Regions from separate parts of the Homo sapiens genome. Here region 1 is linked to region 2. Evidence: promoter capture Hi-C in 16 types of primary human blood cells and fetal thymus (Javierre and others, 2016). All regions are on one chromosome and are shown on one strand. The core of a region is centred on a gene start or on the middle of the fragment in contact, and the rest is flanking DNA. Distances in the headings are between cores, read along the strand shown.

The links. The method cuts DNA at HindIII sites, captures the fragments that hold promoters and counts their contacts. A CHiCAGO score of 5 or more calls a contact.
Region 1: a fragment that was not itself captured here is called in contact with the fragment with the promoter of YAE1-DT in region 2 in 3 of 17 cell types (M1 macrophages, M2 macrophages and megakaryocytes); the score reaches 7.9 in M1 macrophages.

Annotation. Positions count from the first base shown.
Region 1 is chr7:38,759,303-38,762,702 of GRCh38, forward strand. All of the region lies in intron 17 of VPS41 (VPS41 subunit of HOPS complex), which reads right to left. Among named protein-coding and RNA genes, the nearest start is that of AMPH, 130 kb to the left of the region's middle. The HindIII fragment of the contact is 3,581 bases long and covers 1-3,115 here.
Region 2 is chr7:39,565,062-39,568,480 of GRCh38, forward strand. It overlaps YAE1-DT (YAE1 divergent transcript), which reads right to left and starts at 1,288. Exons shown (of 3, transcript NR_187579.1): 1 at 1,082-1,288. YAE1 (YAE1 maturation factor of ABCE1) reads left to right here and starts at 1,343. Exons shown (of 3, transcript NM_020192.5): 1 at 1,343-1,486. The coding sequence starts at 1,358. It also overlaps the pseudogene TMX1P1. RefSeq lists an enhancer at 1,180-1,629. The HindIII fragment of the contact is 5,827 bases long and covers 1-2,056 here.

The DNA.
Region 1 (3,400 bases), core at 75-2,574, 810 kb before region 2:
TTCTTGGTGTGTAGCGGAAAAACCCAGATATTTGGTCACAGAAGTGTTGTGTTGTGAGAGTATAGCATGAGAAACTGAGTTTGGTTTCTCCTAAATTCTCAAAACAAACCAAACAATTTAAACCATCCCTAAAAGTATTCACTTTTAGTCACATAACAGACCAAACAATTATATGATTAAAAGTTTGTTCAATAAATATTTCATCAATTTTCAGACTATGGGTCTGGGTGTGGTGAAGAGTTGCAGGGAATATTATTGTACAATAAATCTCCATTTAGCATTCCTGGGAGGCAGGTCGTGCCATCTACTTCTGTCCTTAGTTTTACGAAATGTACAACTAAGAAAGCTATCTTGTTCCTTCTATAAAGTGCATGGACAAGAGTTTAGGTTGGACTTGCCCCATCCCCATTCTGGACTAACTGTAACATTTGGATGACAGCTTTAACAGCTTACAGATATTACCCAAGTCAGCTACTTTCCCCACCACCAAGAGTCCTCTAATGCACTTAGGCCTGGGCTGCTGGGTGCAACTGGTTATGCAGTTGTGCACTGTATAGCCAGCACAACTGACCGTGGCAGTCTGCTTGGGACAGGGCTGCTCCCACAGTGAAACTGTCCAGCATTCTATATCTTTAACAAGTCACCATCTTGGTCCTCCTTCCACTTTGGCTTCTAATGCCAGTTTTATGTTGGAATTTGAGACTTTGGCTCAAGTCTTATCCCCTGGCTCTTATCCTGGCTATCTCTAGATCTCAAATTTTGTGGTTCCCCGATTTGATCCTGTTTCCGTCCCACAGCTGATTCTGGGCCAGTATCTTGCTCAGTCTCTACTCCCTGATTCCCGACTTTAGACTTCATGTTTTATAACTCAAAGTATGACAGAGCAGTTTACTTACTGATCCTTGACAATGTTTAGAACAAAAACATGTTCATAAGACAGTAAAGAGAATTAAAAACATCCACGTTATTAAATGTGAAAGGAAAATAAATTCTCAGGACCTCCAATTCACTAAGCCAAAGGGAAAGTTAAGGGAACTGAGTCATGCAAAAATTGCCTTCCTTTTGTTCCCAAACAGAGAGCTGTCATTTCACATGCTTCCTTTAGCTCATGTCAAAGCTAGATCTACTGAGCAAGAGATGAATGCATAATTGACTTTTTCCCCACTTCTCTCTTTTTACATGTAAAACGTAGATTTCCTGAGCTAATCAGAGCATCACTGGAATGTGACCAAGTGCCTCATTGCTTACTCTCCCCCTACTTATTTATTTATTTATTTTTAAAATTTGCTCCTTTGCCTCCTGCTTGCTCTTTCCCCTTTAAATTTTGAAGTCCTCAACAATCTCTTTGGAAAAAGCACAGGACACAGACCCTGTTTCTTTTCCCCAAGTATGTCCCTAACCTTGGCAAAATAAACCTTAAAGTCGATTGAGATCTGTCTCAGTCACTTTTTGGTTTATATAAAAAATAGTACATTATTACTATTAAATAACTCCATTAATACTTTAATGAACTACTGTGAATTTGTTTAAATAATACTTAGAAATGAAAACAATGTGATAGAAGCTGCTTCTGTAATGCACCAGGATTTGGTAAGAAAAGTGCAAAAGAATCAGTAATATAGTTTTCATTAAAGTTCCACCCGATTTCTACCAAAGTAGCCCCTGGAAGGATGGCAAGAGACCAGAACAAAAGACCACATATTTTCCATTTAGATTACAAACTTCTTATATATTAATATGATTGAAATTTTACTTCAGAAATTTGGGAATGGATTCAATCAGAACATTAAAATGTTTGTAGAACCAAAATAATATTTCAGATCAAGTTTCTTTCTTTTCTTCCTTCTCTGTTTCCCTTTCCTTGTCTTTCCTTCCTTGTCCTTCCTTTCTTCCCTCCCTCCCTTCCTTTTCTTTCTCTCTCTCTCCCTCTTTCTTTGTTTTTCTCTCTCTCTCTTCCTCTCTTTTTTTTTTTTTTTTTTTTTTTTTTTTTTCAGGTGGTGTTTCGCTCTGTCGCCCAGGCTGGAGTTCAGTGGCGCTATCTTGGCTCACTGCAACCTCCGCCTCCTAGGCTCAAGCAAGTCTCTCGCTTCAGCCTCCCAAATAGCTGGGACTACAGGTGCATGCCACCATGCCTGGTTAATTTTTGTATTTTTTTTTTTTTTAGTAGAGACGGGGTTTAACCATGTTGGCCAGGATGGTCTCCATCTCCTGACCTTGTGATCCGCCCGCCTCAGCCTCCCACAGCCTCCCAAAGTGCTGGGATTACAGGGGTGAGCCACCACACACAGCCTCTTTCTTTCTTTTTGTGAGAAAGGGTCCCACTCCGTCACCTAAGCTGGAGTGCAGTAGCATGATCACAGCTCACTGCAGCCTCAGCCTCTAGGGTCAAGTGATCCTCCCACCTCAGCCTCCTGAATAGCTGAGAGTACAGGCATATGTCACAGCACTCAGCTAATTTTTAGTTTTTTATAGACAGGTCTCACTATGTTACCCAGGCTGGTTTTGAACTCCTGGGCTCAAGCAATCCTCCCACCTTGGCCTCTCAAAGTGCTGGGATTACAGATGTGAGCCACCGTGACAGCCCTGTTTTCTTAAGACTATATAAGATAAAATAGTCTGTAAAGATTTCTACCCCAATACCAGCAGCTCACAGTAGCCCCTAGACCATTAATAATAATGCTCAGGGAAAGAAGAAAGTTTGGCCTCATTTTTTCTTTTCCCTATCATGCAACAGCCTCATGGTACTGCCAACTTCGAACACAAAATAAAGACAAAATAACCAGTCATCTTGTATGATAAAAGCATGATGACCCCACCATAAACTGAAATAAACATCTATCATATTTCATGTTAGGCTTCTCTCTGTTCAACTGGCTTTGTGTACCCTTGAATAAATGTGCTACCCAAGAAATATTTATAAAATCTATCTGTGGCCATTATTACTAATTAGAGGACACAGGAACAAGGGACCTGTTATGATTGAATGAGCAAAGTTATAGAAAACCTCAGTACCTATCATAATAAGTAAAAGTCTAGAAAGTACTCATGAAATGAAATGCCACAGAAATCATCCAATTTTTAACATGCTTATATGTTTGTCGTTAATATTAAACAAAGCTTAACTGTTTAACTCTGCTGGGTCGTAAATTAATAGGCAAAGCTACAGGCATATGACTAGAAACCCCATACAAAGAAGTCATGAAGCATCTTTACCTCCAATATTACTTCATGTCTTTTTAGGGAGAAAAAAATTGACAAGTCAATATTCCAGAGAAGTACAGTTTGTTTTTTGTAATCTGACCTTCAGTGCTCTGTTTAGCAACACAAAATGTCTCTCCACATAATATGTGATCAAAAGTGTTGTTAGGGAACACAGCTATTTGACTGATAATGTGACAAT
Region 2 (3,419 bases), core at 38-2,537:
GAGTTTTAGTTGGTAATTAATATTTTAATCTCCTTCTGCATCAGTGGTTATCTCATTTCTCATTCTTGTATAATTTTGTTCTCTTTAAAAATCTGGGTCATGACAGGATTATCTATCTTATTGGTGTTTTCAAATAATACAAAAAAGAATTGGACTTACTTATTCAAGTTTTGAGGTTTTCTATTTTATTGTTATCTTTATTGCTTACTACCATTTTGTTCCTAATAAAGATATATACATATATCTTAATATATTTACATTAATAAAATATACATATTTGTAGTTTATATATTTTTTATTTGTGGGATGCCAAATTCTCTCTGGAGATTTAAAATTGTAACATGAACCAACCACCCACTCCCACACACTTATGGTTCTTACTGTGCTTATTTAAAAATTTTTTTCATAGCATTTATTTATGATCTTCTAACAAACCTTATGCTACTTATATATTGCTTATTGTTTATCCTGTCAATTTTACATGACTATAAAGTCGACAAGGGTTGGGAACTTCCGTCTGTTCATTGATGTATCCCAAAGCCTGGAATGGTACCTGACACAAGGTAGGTGTTCAATAAATTGTTAGATAAATAAATCATAATCACATGACTCATTTTACCCAGGCAAAGGGCAAAACAGGAATACTACAGGTATTCATTCATTCACCAAAATAGAGTTCAGCATTTACTATGTGTCAGAACTGTCCTGGTGTTGACACAAGTCCCCACCCTTACCAAACCAACTGTTTACTTTAGGGCATATGAACAGGAATGGGAGGCAGAAGGATATCGTGAATCAATGAAAAAATATATTGGCTTTACAAATGTACTCTATATTTCTTACTAATCTCAAATTGGCTACAGTACCTCGCTTTTCGATCCTATTTTCCTTTACTCCACAATCCTAACAGTTTAAAATGTCGGCTTGTCAAATCCTTTAAATGCAGAGGAGATTCCAAAAGAGACAAAGTATTTGGGTGGTAATCGCCCATCGACTTTACTACCTTTAATAGTTTACCAAAGCGCGCGAATGTAAAACCCAGACCATGGTAAGACTACGGTGGAAATGGAAGGTGTCTCACTGAGGGTCCCGGTTGCCTTCTGCAAAGGTGAAGGTCGTGCCGGCCACGCGAGGAAATCTGCCTCGCTCACAACTCACAGGCACACATCAACACTGCCAACCGAGGGAGCCCAAAATCACCGCAAGCGAAAGGCTCCGGCGGCGGCCACGGGCCACAGCCCGCCTCCGCGCACACGCAGCCCCTCCCGAGCCTCCACTCGCCGTCTTCGCCCCGCCTTCGGACCGGAAGGAGTTGTTGGCGCTTCCGGTGGCCTGCGACCCCGTAATTGCCTCGGTGATGTCGTGGGTTCAAGCAGCCTCCTTGATCCAGGGCCCTGGAGACAAAGGGGACGTGTTTGACGAAGAAGCAGACGAGTCGCTCCTGGCGCAGCGGGAATGGCAGAGTAACATGCAAAGACGAGTCAAAGTAAACGTGGTGTGGACGGCGCGGGGTGCTGGGTTGTGGGAAGAGGCGCGGAGTTGTGAAGAAGCTGGGTCCAGAGTGGCCCCAGCCTGGCCCGGCGCTGCTCTCTTTATCCCTAGGGACCCGGTCCGACCCGCGTCTTGCTAGGATTTCTCGATGGTTACTTGAAAGCGTGTAAAACAACAAGACGCATTCTTTGAGCGCCTACGGGATGCGTTAGAAACTGAGGACCGACCAAAATTAACTATGTGTAGACTTTGAACAGTTTGCAGTTTGTTGAGGATCACAGGGAAAGGAGCTGGAGAGAAACATACACTATACTTATTATGGCTGTCAAAGGACGTGTACGCAGTTTATATGGGTGGCTTGAATGGGTAGGGAGCCTAAAGTTAAGGAGTAGTGTTAATCAAGACATATTGAAAAGATGAACTAAAGCATGCTGTCAGAGGACAATAAGGGAAAGCTAATGTGGAATACTGGTGTCTAGGTAAGGGAATATTAAAGTTGGTTTCTTTTTTATTTGTTAGATGTAACTTTTTCATCTCTAATTTGTCTCACTATTCATTGAAACTAAGCTTAATTTCTGTGTGCAGCCTACAGTATTTCTGGGTGAGGACCAAATAGTGAGGTCCACATCCACTTAATATATTTGCCAACCATTAAATTGCCGCTAAAGCTGCAGTTGGGAATCTGCCCTGTTTAATATTTCAGTAGAGTGGTATTTGCTTAGCCCAAAAACCATGTTGTCAATTACAAAAATGCTTTATGTGAGACTGGGGCCACACTAATAAGTATTGAGCATCTTTTAAATGCTGTGGCACCGTGAGAGATGCAGAACGAAATCACTACCCACAGAGCTTTTGCAGGTTAGTTGAATTTAGGTATTATGCAAAATTTCTGAAACCAGACTTCTCATCATCCTTTTTTTTTTAAACAATTTCCTCTCTCTGCTTTGCCCTGTCTCCTCACCCACCCACACCATTCCAATCAGTTGGCAAGAGCCCAGATGTGTAATTTTCCATATATCCTTTTTGTGAAGACATTGCTAATGCTGGGTTTTGTTTTTTGTTTTTTGGTTTTTTTAATCTTTTGAAGTGATTAGAAAAGTTTATTTTGTGCTTAGGATATTTTTCTAAGGCATCACAGGTTACACATCCAAACTCTTCAATGGTATAATATTTTATATTCTAAAGGAGAGACCTTTAAAGAAAACTTGTACATTATGCTACTATAAGTCTAGTGGATTCTCCTATCCGCAGAGCCTAGAAAGAAGGGGACATTACAGAAATTGTCTACTACATAATGGTCAGTTGATTCATTGTATTTATGGTTTTCCCCCTTCTTGTAAGGTGAAAACTATGTATGCCCTTTAAGGAGTATGCTCTTTAAGGAGTAAAAATACACTAAGTGTACCATCCTGTTGATTTCTACCTGTAAGATACCACACAATATTAGCAGTTAGGAAAGAACAGGAAAATATGAAGTTTGTATCTTAAAATATAAAAATGTGTGGCGAAACCCCATCTCTACTAAAAATACAAAAATTAGCCGGGTATAGTGGCGTGCACCTATAGTCCCAGCTACTTGGGAGGCTGAGGCAGAAGAATCACTTGAATCCGGGAGGCAGAGGTTGCAGTGAGCTGAGGTCATGCCACTGCACTCCAGCCTGGGTGACAGAGCGCGACTCCATCTCAAAAAATAATGATAATAATAAATATATATATATATAGTTAATGATTTTGAAACATCAAGCATTACAGACTGTAAAATTAATTAAGAACTTTCTGTATATGATGCCAAAGATACATTTAAAACATATACAAGAAGATGCTTTTTCCTGAGTAGAATGCAAACTTTGTTTTATATTAACCTTCTGTGAATTTTCAAAATGTAAAATACCAGGACTTTTCCACATCAGACAAAAATCAGGAATGTT